3 separate regions of the Homo sapiens genome follow, and all the other regions are linked to region 1. Evidence: promoter capture Hi-C in human tissues and cell types (Jung and others, 2019). All regions are on one chromosome and are shown on one strand. Each heading gives the region's core, a stretch centred on a gene start or on the middle of the fragment in contact. The rest is flanking DNA. Distances are from core to core; before and after follow the strand shown. Region 1 holds the start of ST3GAL1 (ST3 beta-galactoside alpha-2,3-sialyltransferase 1). Region 2 overlaps LOC101927845 (a long non-coding RNA gene). Region 3 overlaps ZFAT (zinc finger and AT-hook domain containing).

What was found. Contacts are between HindIII fragments. The study calls those that stand out against the background at their distance.
Region 2: a contact is called between a fragment that was not itself captured here and the fragment with the promoter of ST3GAL1 in region 1, in 1 of the 25 tissues and cell types used here (dorsolateral prefrontal cortex).
Region 3: a contact is called between a fragment that was not itself captured here and the fragment with the promoter of ST3GAL1 in region 1, in 3 of the 25 tissues and cell types used here (dorsolateral prefrontal cortex, hippocampus and spleen).

What each region holds. Positions count from the first base shown.
Region 1 is chr8:133,569,166-133,573,136 of GRCh38, forward strand. It overlaps ST3GAL1 (ST3 beta-galactoside alpha-2,3-sialyltransferase 1), which reads right to left and starts at 2,722. Exons shown (of 10, transcript NM_173344.3): 1 at 2,528-2,722. It overlaps ST3GAL1-DT (ST3GAL1 divergent transcript), which reads left to right and starts at 1,407. Exons shown (of 2, transcript NR_186509.1): 1 at 1,407-1,705; 2 at 1,893-3,971. RefSeq lists enhancers at 482-551, 509-1,362, 722-941 and silencers at 2,732-3,221, 3,412-3,471. The HindIII fragment of the contact is 11,226 bases long and covers 1-3,971 here.
Region 2 is chr8:134,870,660-134,875,656 of GRCh38, forward strand. The region is part of intron 1 of LOC101927845 (a long non-coding RNA gene); the gene reads left to right. Among named protein-coding and RNA genes, the nearest start is that of NCRNA00250, 35 kb to the left of the region's middle. The HindIII fragment of the contact is 4,143 bases long and covers 828-4,970 here.
Region 3 is chr8:134,656,986-134,661,982 of GRCh38, forward strand. It overlaps ZFAT (zinc finger and AT-hook domain containing), which reads right to left. Exons shown (of 16, transcript NM_020863.4): 2 at 576-752. Among named protein-coding and RNA genes, the nearest start is that of ZFAT, 54 kb to the right of the region's middle. The HindIII fragment of the contact is 7,966 bases long and covers 1-4,997 here.

The DNA of each region.
Region 1 (3,971 bases), core at 1,472-3,971:
CTGCTCAAGCCCAGGTCCTGGCCTTGTCCAATCAGACTCTAAACAGCAAATGCCGGCCCAGAAAAATGCAGGGAAAGCAAACTTCAGGGTTTGTGGGATTTTGAAAAGGCAAGAGGAGAAGGAGCCCTCTATTCATTCTTTATTTAGCAAAAAGTGTACGATGGAACTTTTTTCCCTAGACCTGAAGTCAAGGTATACACATACACACATGTAGAGTATGAACTACCTATACATACACACATTCACTTAATTATATGTATTATCGCCACTCGCAATTATGCAGAACGTATTTTGGAGAATGTATTATTGGCCTCATTTTGCAGATATAGAAACTGAGACGCCGAGAGGTTAAGTCTGGCGACCAAAGAGAGACAGAGACAGAGAGACGGGAGACTAGAAGAGGCCCCACGCTGTACCCAGATATTGGCAGAGGCTGAGGGGCACGGAGTGGTGAACTCTAGTCAGTCATTTCAGCCAACCATGGGATTTCAGAAAACAGCCGGCAGGGGTCCTAATGTTTGGGGCAGGAAGGGGAGGTGCGGGAAGGCACTGAGGGACCCCCGCACTGGGCGCCCCTTCCCCACCGCAGAGACAAGCGGCAGTTTCCACAGCAGCCGGCAGGGGGCAGTGCACCTTGCCTTTTCGAAGCCTCTGGGCGCTTGGGCAGCGCGGGGTAAAGAAAATCAGGAGGCTCCGCCCGCAGCTTCTACGAACAGGCCAGGAGTAGAGCCCCCGCACGTAGTAGGTGCTCCAGGCACGTCTAGAAGCCTAAAGGGCTTGGTCGATACATTTGAACTCCATTTTAGAGACTGGAAGGGAAGAAGGGGGCGTCCGGGCCCCTGCCAGCACCTTCCACCTTGGGGCCTTGTCAATGAACACTGCGTTAGCACCTACGACGTGCCAGGCGCCCTGGCGACTATTGGAAAACCCGGCTCCCCTCTCACCCCGTTTTCCTCGTTGGCGAGTCGGCCTCGCCTCCTCCTCCCGTCTCTTCCTCTCACCACACACACCCAGCCGCAGAGCGGGGGTGGGCGCTCGCTGTCTCCCTGGAGAACCAGCTCGTCGCAAACTTGCGGGGCTTGGGGACCCGCGAGGGGGAGAAGTCGGGAGAGGCCAGGGGTGCCCGGAAACAATCACGAGAAAGCCGGGCGAATGCCTGATGCAGGGACGCGGCGAGCCAGTCACTGCCCTCAGGGTCACGGCTGACTCCCTCTGCGGGACTCGCCCAGCCCGCGAGACGCAGTGACCTGCCCAACCCCCACCCCCTTGCGCGCTTCTGGGTGCGCACGTGTCCCCTCGCCCAACACACCACCGAGCCCCGCGCATGGTACGGCCGCCGAGGACCCTAGCGTAGGAGGGAGGAGCGAGTCAGGGCTCCAGCTGACGAGCAGAGCCAGACGATCCCCACACGCTTCCTGGGAGACCCGGCTGCAAGGCCAGGCTAATGCGCGCTCCGACGTCTCTGTGCCAAGCCGGGGCGCAAGCTCAACCCCCATCTCAAGTTCAGCCGCGCTTCCTCCCGCAAGGTCACGCTTAAACACTCGCGCAGAGAAAGGAGGAGCGGAAAGTTGCGCCACCGTCCCGATTCCAAACTAACTGTACCCTCACCAGAGCGCCTCGCCCCAGGGTCACCGCTGTCCGTCCCCGTGCGCTCCCAGAAGGGGTGGCCCTGCCCCCACGCAGGTCACACACACGAGAGACACAGGCAAGTTGCTAACTTTTGTCAGATTATTTCTTGGGAGCTGCGACGCCTCACGGGGTTGGGGCGGATTCAGAGTTTCGAGTTGCCACTAACACGACTCCGGCCGTGCTCTCCTTGGCCCACCCGCGTCCCCCACTGTCCGCCACGCCGCGTTCAGCTCTCTTGTCCCGGGTGTCAACTTCACCCCCAGATCCGGAGCAGCGCGCTCTGACGGCGTCCCCGGGGCCGATAGCCACCTCCCGGATCTGCGCCTGCTTGCAGCGGATTGGGGGACTCGATCCGGATACTGTCCCACGGCCGCTCGTCCAGAACACTGGCGGCCTCCGCGGTGTCCCAGCCTGTGACCCCAAATCCGCTCGAGAGCGCCTGAGCCCGGCCACCCAGCGAGGTCTCCTCCCACGGGCGGCCCCAGCGGAGGAGATCCCAGCCCGGCGCCGGGTGCAATGTCACTGGGGCTGCTTTCGGGAACCGCTGCCCGGGACTTGGCGTAGGTTCCCCACAGAGCTCCAGGCAGCTCCTCCAGTGTCGGCCGAAGACCCCTAAGCCCGAACCTCCACCCCGACCTTCTTCCTCTCCCAAAGCCCTGGGTGGTCGCCGCTGCCAAGGAAGGGGTCTCCCTTCGAATGTCTTCCACTAGAATCCCGGGGTCTTCAGTCCCAGCTCCACTGTCACACCCTCCTAGTCCCCTCCCCACCCCTTCAGTTCCCGGGTCCAGACAATCAACCTTCCACTCCGAGAATCCACAGGAAACTGCCCGAGCCCCAACTCAGGCGGACGCAGCCCCCGCGCACCCCGAGCAGGGTTCGCCTCCGCGCGCGCACTCACCACGGCTGGAGACACGCTGGAGTTTCCGGGATTTGGGCATGAAGGGGTTCGGAGGAGAATACAGGGGTGTGGGTGTCCCGGACACTTGCCCCCTTCCCAGCTCACATCGCCTCTTCCTTCTCTCTCCGCTCTTCTTCCTCCTCCTCCTCCCTCCGGTCTAGGGCTCTTTGTCTTTGCAAAGTGTCGAAACTGTCTGGCATAGTGGGCTCCGCCGGCGGAGGCTGGAGCCGAGGAAGCGAGGAGGCGGGATGAGGGTGGGAGAGGGCTCGGGAACACCTTCCCCCGGGTGTAACGGGAGTGAAAGGCGGGGCGACCGAGGAGGGGCCGCCTTCCCTGGCCGGCCGGGGCCGGGTGCCAGGGCGCGCCAGAGCCCAGCCACCGCCTCCCCTGCGCGCGGCCCTCCCCTTCCTCCGCCCAGTGCCCGCCCCTCCCGACTCTGCGCCTCCGTTCGGCCCCGCCCACCCCAACTTGGCTCGGCTTTCCCTTGGCTCCGGGCTTCCTGCAAGCCGAATTTAGCTCTGCCAAGCCACGTGGACCGCAGCGGGCTCGGCAGAGGCCGAGCCTGGGAGACGCCGGAGGCGGCGGCTGCGGCGCGGGGACCTGATCGGCGCCCCGAGAGGAGCTCCCCGCTCTCTGGACGCGGCCCTCAAGCTGGCGGGGCTAAGGAAGAGCGCCCGGGAGGCCCGGGAGCCACTGGGGTCCGTTTCAGCAGGAAGACGGGCACGCACCGAGAGGATGGCAGTGCCCAGAAGAACTCGAGTCGGGGGCACGGTGGGGAGAAGGGGCCGATCCCCTGCTGGCGACCGGGCAGAGCCACCCACTTCCTCTAAGGGCGCGGGACTCGAGGTGGGATTTAGGGAGGGGGAAGGGAGGAGCGTGGGCTGGACGACTCTTGCGGCCAGAACCGCGTTCAGAGCCACAGAGCCGGGCACTGCGGCCGGCCCTGGTCCCGGCCCCGGCCCTGGCCCAGCCCTTGCCCTGGCTCGCCTGCCGCCGCTTTTTCCTTCCAGATGCGGAGGCTGCGGCTGGAGCTTGGGGTTTGCGGATTAGGCTTGCAGTTATTCAGCCCTCCCTCTTTTACAGGGAAGCGGGGGCGGTGGAGACTTCTTTTGCTGAAAGGCAGAGTGCAGCGCTTTGATGCTAAATGCAGTACACAAGTCATGTAAATCTGGTTTTACGGTTCTTAACCCCTTACTGAGACTACCTCTTTCGCAACTTTTCGGAGGAATGTTAGAGGAAAGAGGCACAGTTTGCCTTTGGGGTCATTGCATCCTTCCAGCGCCCCTTGCTCCAGCTGGAGAGAGATCAACCTTTTGCAGTGGAAGGGGAGAGTCCCCCAGCCTTTGTTTCATCAGACGGCTGCTGTAGTACAGGGATTCAGGCCAGGGCCCGCATGGCCGGACTTCTTGGTTCAAATCCTGCACTGCCACTCAACGGATGTGTG
Region 2 (4,997 bases), core at 1,649-4,148, 1.3 Mb after region 1:
GACTCAGCCTCCCAAAGTGCTGGGATTAAAGGCATGAGCCACCACGCCTGGCTCACTCTCAGTGTCTTAATCCTATGTGGGAAAAATAGAAGATGAACAAGTGAGCAACTACATAAATGTAAAATGGTGATATTTACTATGAAGGAGAGGAAGCAAGGTCAAATGTCAGAGCGTAGGACTTCCAGAGGTGGAAGGCAGGGATGGGTGTCTCTCAGAAAAAGGGTGATTTGAACTGAGACCTGAATTATGAGAGGCTTGAAAAGATCTGACACAGGGCATTCCAGACAGAAAGAAGAAGGTTTGTGCAAAGGTGCTGAGGTGGGTGGGAGCTCCGTGAGTGTGAGAAAGAGGCAGGAGGTCCATGTGGCTGGATTTTGTAGCAGGCAGAGTCAGAAGCTAGTGTGGAAGAGCACAATAGGTGGGCACCAGTGGTCCAGATGAGGACTTCAGAGGTCACTGGTCACTCTCAGAGGGGCCTGAGAAAGTCTGGCACGTCCACACAAGACCCGGAGATTATCCCCAGGCTGGCCAGGCCCCTTCCTGTGATCCCCACACCTGGAAATCATGGGATCTGTCTTTGGTTCCTGAGATTCCAGGAACCTGTGGACTCTTCCAATCCGAGCTTAGTCTCCAGGAAACCCATTTGTGTGTCTTTCTTTTTCTCATTCTCTTTCTCTTTTAAAGAAAAATAAACCAGGGAAAGGCTCCCTTCCAGAAGGGGAACCTGAAAGCCTGTTGAAGTTTTTATAAGGGTCACACTCTCAGAAGCTCCAGTGTTAGCGATGAATCATCTAGTGCCTAAGTCCAGTGTTGCAATTTTACAGATAAAATTGTGGCCCAGAGAGCAGGGGCTTGCCACTGTAACCAGGAGATTGCTGACCATGTGTTTAAATTTTTTTAGGCATAGAGTCTCACCGTGTTGCCCAGGCTGGAGTGCAGTGGCTATTCACAGGTGCACTCATAGTGCATTATATCCCTGATCTCCTGGGCTCTTTGGCCATGTTTCAAAGTTTCCTCAAGTTGCAGGTGGTGCAGCCTGAATGCCTTCAGGTTCTTTGACTCCAAGGCACTGCCTGTCCTTCCAAAGCCTGACTGCTTGTCCTAATTACAAGCGAAAAATGCAGGAGTCCCACCTTGACTTGTGAAAATGAGGTTATTGTGTTAAGCGATCCTTCTGCCTCAGTCTCCCAAGTAGCACGCCACCACACCTGGCTCTGGCTACAGGTTTAATACTTTATCTTTTTCTGTTGGACATTGAGTTACTGACTCTCAGCTCCAAACCCACTCTTTGCTACTCTGATTTATGATGCTGGGGCTGGGACTCTGCAAACCACATTTCTAGCCTGTCCACTGGCTCTGAATTTAGGTTCTTGGATGGGGGTGTGAGAGAGGAAGAAAGCCTTGGGCATCTCTGCATCCTCTGTCCAAGAATGACCCCAGCAGCAGTAGTGGACTCCAGAGTCCCCTTGGTTTCAGGTTGCAGGCGTTCCACACTCCTGGGATCAGCCTCCTTGCACCCCCAGTACATACCAACTGGAGCCCCTTCTTTAGACATCTGTGTTCAAGCTCCAGAGGGCCTCCCTCCTCAGAGATTCTACATTCTAATAATCCCGATCTTTTCTTCTGTTTCCTAGCCCTTGGGTTGGGAGCTGCTTTGACAGTTGCTGCTGTTGTACTTCTTAGTGCTCCCCCTTTTTTTCTACCCAGTACTTGGTTAATGATTCTTTGTATCAAGGTCTCTCTGTTAAAATAACCGGTAGAGTTTCTGTCTCCTGATAGGACCCTAACTAGACATGCTGTTTTAAAAGCCCCATTTGCATCCTTTTGCCTCCTCTGGTCTTTATTCTTATCTTGTGAAGCAGGGTGTGTTAATGTTATCAGGGAAACTGAGGCTCAGGCAGCTTTGACCATGTTTCGAAGTTCCCTCAAGTTGCAAGTGGTAGAGCCTGAAGGACTCCAGTTTCTTTGACACCAAGAGCACTGCCTGTCCTTCCAAAGCCTGACTGCTTGTCCTAATTCCAAGGGAAAAATGCAGAACTCCCACCTTGACTTACGAAAATGAGGCAATTGTGTGCTCTATTACAAGCATTATAAAGACTATGCTTTAAATGATATATTCCTTGGAAGTGAAAGGGCAAGAACTAGAATTTGTTAGTAAGTCTTCATGATAAGTTCCAAAATCTCAATAAAATTGGATTATTCTATGAGGCTTTCAGTACTAAAAAAATTTTACTGTGAAAATGGTGTAGGTTCTTGTTTATTTTTTGTTCTTCTCTATAAGACATTTTATTGGTTATATATTTTAGGGGCAAGTAATTAGTTGTATATTTTTCTATATGTCTTGTGGTTTTTTTTTTTTTTTTTGTGACGGAGTCTTGCTCTGTTGCCCAGGCTGGAGTGCAGTGGTGCGATCTTGGCTCACTGCAAGCTCCGCCTCCCAGGTTCACGCCATTCTTCTGCCTCAGCCTCCCTAGTAGCTGGGACTACAGGCACCCGCCACCACGCCCGGCTAATTTTTTGTTTTTTAGTAGAGATGGGGTTTCACTGAGTTAGCCACGATGGTCTCAATCTCCTGACCTTGTGATCCACTCGCCTTGGCCTCCCAAAGTGCTGGGATTACAGGCGTGAGCCACCACGCCCAGCCATGTCTTGTATTTTAAAGTGCATAAAGAATATGTGTGTTCCTCTGTAGTATCAAGGAATAGGGTTTCTCCTTACTTGAATATTCTGTTGGAGTGACTGTAATTGTTATATTGGCTAATCATTTGAAAATAATTAGAATAATGTGGCAAATGTAATATTTACAGTGTGCCGTGCACTGTTCTAAGTGTTTTACATATATTAAATTAACTTATGTAATTTCCACAAAAACCCTGAGAGTGGATAGTATTATAATATTTTTTTCATTGATACCATTAAGGCACAGGGAGAATAAGGAACTTGTCCAGAGTCACACAGCTGACATGTGTGAGAGCTGGGAATTGAACCCATGATATCTGGCTCAAGAGTTCTTGCTCCTATGCAGTATACTGACTCTGTTTCTCAGCTCACTCCTTTTTTGAGTCTGCAGTTGTCATAGTCAGGTTGTTTATGAGTGCTGGAAAATAAGAAACAGAACAGCAATGCCAAGTCTGTAGAGCATATAAACATGTTGGTGCAGTGCTATTTTAACAAAGGGTTGCCCCCACCCCCAGCGCTTAGAAAGTATGACGGATTGATTGCATTAATAGCCCCAATTATTCATGCCTCTTTTTATTCTACTTTTTGGTAATGCTCTCCCATGCTGACTCTGGGATTAACAATGTCAACTGCTGTATTAGATGTCTATGTTGTGTAACACATTACTACGATCTTACCAGCCTAAAACAAAGTATCTTTCTTATTTCCCACAGTTTCTGTGGGTCAGGAATCTGAGCAGGGTTAAAGGGGCCCTTTATTTAGGGTCTCACAAGGCTGCAATCAAGGAATCAGCTGTGCTACCTTCCTTTCTGCAGCTCAGGTTCCTCTTCCAAGGTCACATCGTTTGTTGACAGAAGTTAGTTCCTTGCAGTCATAGCACTAACGTCCTCATTTTCTTGTTGGCTGGTAGCTGGGGACGACTCTCAGCTCCTAGATGTCACTGGCTGTTCCTTGCCACATGGCCCTCTTACACTGTGACAGCTCACTTCTTCAAGGCCAGCAGGAGAATCTCTTATTTATGTTCGCTATGATGGAGTCTTATAGAACGTAATGAGATCATGACAATGACTATTCCAACACCTATGTACCATATGAGGGGACTTCCAAAAGTTCACAGAAAAATGGAATTAAAAGATACAAATTTAAAAATATAAACTTTATTTCCCAACACAAGTTCCATCAAGTTCAAGAAACCTTTGTAAGTGATTATAAAAGTCATGGCCAGGCGTGGTGGCTCACACCTGTAATCTCAGCACTTTGGGATGCCGAGGCGGGCAGATCACGAGGTCAGGAGATAGAGACCATCCCGGCTAACACGGTGAAACCCCGTCTCTACTAAAAATACAAAAAATTAGCCGGGTGGTGGTGGGTGGGCACCTGTAGTCCCAGTTACTCAGGAGGCTGAGACAGGAGAATGGCGTGAACCTGGGAGGCAGAGGTTACAGTGAGCCGAGATCACACCAATGTACTCCAGCCTGGGTGACAGAGCAAGTCTCCGTCTCAAAAAAAAAAAAAAAAAAAAAAGTCATTTAGTTCATCCCTAAAGAACTGAGGGTCCTGGGAATTTAACCATGTCAATGCAGTCTTTTAACATTATTAACTGAAGAAAAATGGATGCCATTTAAAGATTTTTTTTAAGATTAGGATACAAAAAATAAGTCAGAAGAAGTCAGGTCAGGAATGTAAGGTGAATGCCTAGTGATTTCCCTTCAAAACTCTTGCAGAATTTTCCTTGGTTGATGAGAAGAATGAGAAGCAGCACTGTTGAAAGACTCTCTGGTGAAGCATTCCCAGGCATTTTTCTGCTAAAGCTTTGGCTAACTTTCTCAAAACACTCTCAAAACAAGCACATGTTATTGCTCCTTGGTCTTCCAGAAAGTCAAGCAAAGTTCCTTGAGCATCCCCCAGAACCGTTGCCATGACCCTTGGTCTTGACCCCTCCACTTTTGCTTTGACTGTAAACTTTCATCTCTTGGTAGCCATGGCTTTGATTGTATTTTGTCTTCAGGATTATACTGGTAAAGCCATGTTTCATTTCCTGTTAAAATTCTTTAAAGAAATGCTATAGGGTCTTTTTTTTTTTTCCTGAAACAGGGTCTTGCTCTGTCACCCAGGCTGGAGTGCAGTGGTATGATCTTGGCTCACTGCAGCCACAACCTCTGAGGCTGAAACCATACTCCCACCTCAGCCTCCTGAATAGCTGTACTACAGTTATACACCACCACATCTGGCTAATTTTGTTTATTTTTTGTAGAGACAAGGTCTTACTATGTTATCTAGGCTTGTCTCAAACTCCTGGTCTCAAATGATACTCATGT
Region 3 (4,997 bases), core at 1,671-4,170, 1.1 Mb after region 1:
CAAATCAAAGCTTTGCAATGTGAATCCTTGTTCCAGGTTTATAGGAACAGTTGGAAAATGCTGTAAGATTATATAGACTTATTTATTAATCATGTACGTTAGAACAACAGCTTCCTTTTATCATGTTCTGTGTGCCAGGCATCATCTTAGGTCCTGTAGGCATATTCTTTAACTTCATCCTCACAGACCCCCTTGTAACCAGCATATTTCTCATCATTTGTCCAGATAAGCAAAGTGAGGCTTGGAGAAGTAACATCATTGGCTTCAGGTAATGCAGCCAGTAGGTACTAGGGCTGGGTTAAACCCACACTTGTCTGACAACAAGCTCATGTTTTTCACACTATTGAATACTGCCACTTCCATTCATTCTTTCATTCATTCATTTGCCAACCTACAGGGGGCTAGGTATGGGATTTCAAAGGCACAATCTTATTTGAGCATATCTACAATTGGAGACTTATTGTGACTTCTGATTTGGAAATGTGGATTTTCTAGGCTTCTGCTATGCCCACGGAGCAAATCAACATCAACAGGTGTGTCAGAAGGTATCCTGCCCCACCCCCCAGCCCCCTTACCATCTCCGGTTTTGCTTGAGTTGGGGGGTTCAGGTGTACTCAGAGGCCTAAGGGGAATAATAATCTCATCAACATTAACCCCTTCTTCCATGTGCTTCTCTGAAACGTGGGAGAGGAGTTCCGACTGATTTGGTGAGAAGAGGTTACAACATTTACACATAAAGATGGCCGTGTTTTCTGTAAGGAAAAAAAAGGAAAATATGTTATTTCATCTCCACATAAACAATTATTACTTCCAATTGCCAAAGACAATACCGAAAGCTGCCCTTCTGAGCCATCACCAGCCTCTACCAGATTGTGTCTCTCTGGCAGTCACCTCCATGGCAGGCCACTCACTTTCATCTTCAGGGAGATCCAGGGGCCAGAAAGTTCTTTATTCAGTATCTCAACCCTCAGTCCTTCTGGATAGTGTCTAATACAAACCTTCTTGTTACCCAAATCTACTCATCAGCCCAGATTCTGGGATAAGTACAGCCAAGTAAAAAATAAATATGCGGCCGGGCGCGGTGGCGCACGCCTGTAATCCCAGCACTTTGGGAGGCCGAGGCGGGCGGAGCACAAGGTCAGGAGATCGAGACCATCCTGGCTAACATGGTGAAATCTCGTCTCTACTAAAAATACAAAAAATTAGCCAGGCATGGCAGCGTGCACCTGTAGGCCCAGCTACTCGGGAGGCTGAGGCAGGAGGATGGCGTGAACCCGGGAGGTGAAGCTTGCAGTGAGCCGAGATCACGCCACTGCACTCCAGCCTGGGCGACAGAGCGAGATTCTGTCTCCAAAAAAAAAAAAATTTGCAACTTAAAAAACTAAATCCTACCCCTCAAATGACTGAACTGCACACTGATGGCAATTAAGCAGTCTTGCTAGATTCTCTCAAATTACGCACAAGGAAAAGTTGACCACAATAGCATTTCTCAACAGCCCAGCACCTTTCAATGAAACGGCAGGAATTTGTTGCCTTTTTAAAGCCACTGAATTCCTATTTAAAGCACTCTCATTGTTCAAAAAATTTACCAATAGTTCATTATGTTCATCTCATTATACTAGGCAGGAAGACATAATAAGGGAAATAAAACACTCACTTTTTAGACTGATAAAATAATTATAGGTATATACAAAATATTAAATTCAGGATTCAATAACAATTAAAAGCCAGATCTTTGTATTATTATTTTTACATTCAGACTGAAAGGAAGTGGCTTTGTCCACTGAAAAGGACAATGGCTTTGGAGCCAAAAGGCCCAGGTTAAATTCCCAACTCGTCCCTAAATGCTGGAAAGCTGAGGACCTCAGAGAAGCAGTCATCTGTCAGTTGCTGGAATCCATAGGAACTTTGGGGATGGAACTTGCCTATTCAGCAGCAAGAACCCAGCAGACACTCAGAAAGCACAACACTGACTCGGCGCAACTCTGCACCCATGGTGTGCCCTCGCCCAGCAGCTGGACGGCTGGCAATCCACACCTGGCTCCCTTCGGCATCCCCCTCACCAGCCTCCTGGGGAGGCTCAACGCTGCCTGGAAGTCACATGCAACTTCTACGCCATTTACTGCCTGGTGATGCTGGACAAATACATGGCAATCATACAAGCTCTGCGCTCTCTGGTGATGGTGAGCAAGTATCTCATCCTCCTCGCTCCTCACTCTCAACAGCTGACCTTGCTTCATATCTCACTGCAAGCAGCCAGAAAACAACTGCCTCTGCCACCCCTTCCAGCCCGCCTGCGTCTTCAGCTGTCTCCCCACCTCGCTCCTGCTGGTTTGAAGGTGGGCATAGTGAGGGGGACACAAGGTGTGCGGGTGAGAGCAGTGGCCCACCCCAGAGCAGGGCTATCATATCTCTGATATTGTCTGGAATTGCTGGTTCATGGAGATACTAAAAGCAGACCAACACTTCACTTGTGTGATCATTACTTTCAAATTCTCTAAAGATAGCGCATGCCTGATTGCCTGCACCCAGGAAGATGCTCCCACATCCCTGTGTGAGAAGGCTACTAGACAAAGGGTGCATGATGGCTTGTGCGTGCAGAACTCACCCTCTCTGATGATTGTTCTCCAGGTCATCAATTCTTCCCTCTGTACTAGATCTTTCCATTGGCCTATAAGCATACTCTTATTCTCCCATCTTAAAATGAAAACAACTCCTGATCCCCACTCCCCCAACCCATTTCTCTCCTCTTTACAGTAAAACTCTCCTACCAGAAAGAGGAAATGAGGAAAGGCAATAGGCCAACCCAGCCTTGCTGGCATGAAGGTGGAGCTCTTGGAAGGCACTGGAGTCCCAGGAGCAAGCCCCTCCCTGGGTTCACAGAAAGACTTTCTCCGTGAATTAGCAGGGAGGTAACGACCTGAGAGAATTCTTTCCTACCAACAACACATGAAATCAAAATTTAACAAAGCAGAACATTGCTTCGCCAATGAAAATCTCTCACAGATACTGCCAATCGATATTATTTTTTTCCAGGAAACGTTCTATTCCTAAGGAACCCAAAATGCTTCCCGAACAAGAAGAGATTAGAGTAATACATTTTTCTTTATAGGAGGCCAAGTTGTTTCCAATGTGCTTCTTGCTAATCCTACAATAATCCAATGATTTAGGCAGAAAGGGTTTGTAATCCCCAGTCCAAAGGTAGGAAACTGAGGCCGAGAGAGGAAAAGCAACTTGCTCAAGTCATTATGGGCAAGAGGCAGGGACCAGATTCTCTCCTACCTGCATTTGACAGGAGTTATGTTTGGCTACAGCCCATGAGCTGAGTTCCTCCAAGTTATAGCTAAAATACTTAAGACTCTACACCCAGCAGCATCTGAAATAAAACTCATTACAGCAAAGAGCGTAATCCCCAAAGCACATATCAACTTCAACTGTGTTCATTTCAGTGTCCATTGAGCAGTAACCACAGGTGGGCCCCACCCCAGACACTGGAGACAGAGATGAATCAGGCATGAGGTCCAGGCCCTGCCACAAGAGGAGGCCACCACATCACTGAACAGATAGACATGTCACAGAACAATCCCATGTAATGGTTTTTACTGAAATTATTTTATAGACATGTCACAGAACAATCTCATGTAATGTTTTTACTGAAATTATTTCCCAATACCTGTAAGTATTCTTGGTTCCTAGGATGCTCTCAGGAAAATGGGAATTCTGTGACATGTAACAGAGCTGAACTTCTGGGGACCACAGGGCTATTACAATGGGTCTCCTAGTTCAAAGGTACACAAAGCACTGCCCAGAGATTACATAAATAAAACTATTTTGCATTTGTATATGACAAAGTGTTGGAGACTACTGGAAATAAACTACTGCTCAGCTATTCCACACCACCTGAAGGCCTGAGGACCCTGGGTGGCACCTGGCCTTGGCCATCTGTTATGAATTTGCATTAACACATGTGTCTGTGTACTCAGCTCTCTCAGGCAGGGAAACTGGACCTGGAGCTCCCGAGGTGGAGGCAGAGACAAACACAGGAACCTGGAACGATTCTCACATCACAGAAGGCTCCGCCACGTGACGTGGGCCATGAGAGTGGGGTGGATACCGATCTGGACAGGCTGCCATGGACAGGAGAGGCTTCTCAGCCGAGAGACAACCAGAGCTCAGTGCTGCAGGGCAGTGAAACTCCAGGAAGGGCGCGTGGGCAGGAGACATGCAGGCTCAGGGAGGAAACACACAGAGTGTCGTGGAGGCAGGAGGGAGGGAAATGAGTGGATCTGCTGACAACACAGGGACCTGCGCCCACAGGGACAGAGATCCCCAGCACAGTCACTGGGCAGGCACTGGCAGCTCCTGAGAGAGCCAGCAGTCCACCAGCAGAGCAAAGGCAAGGAGAAACTGTCTGAAGGGGCTGGCCCTGAAGGAGAGGCCCCACGTGCCTGAGCTGTGCCAGCTCCCCTGCGTGTCCACACCCTGGATTCTGCAATGGCCCCATCACATGGCTCCCCCTAGAATGTGAGGTCATTGGAAACAGCATCTGGCTAGCCTTGGACACCTCAGTGCACCTGGAGGACAGCAAGTGGCCATGGCGGAATGAGGGAGGGAGAAGGAAGGAGTACATTGGCCCAAGACGGGTGGGACTGACACCAAAGAGCCTGTCCAGGGATGAGAGCAGAGATGATGGCCTGAGACACAGATCTGCAGAGGAGTCAGGCCAAGCAGGCATGACACCATCACTGACTAGACATGGCCAACAACAGAGACAGGGGAGGCAGATGTGCCCCCAAGGGAGCAAGGACAGGTCTGATGGGCAGGATCAGGTGGTTGTGGGCAGGACATCAGGATGCAGATGCCTACTAGGAGCAGGCAGCGCAAGACGGGGTGGGGTTCAGCTACAGTAGGGCAGAGAAATGGGGTCAGCACGCAAGGAGGAACATCAAGCCTAAAGATGGAAAGTGTCAAGAAGCCAAATCCTTCCAAAGGCCCTG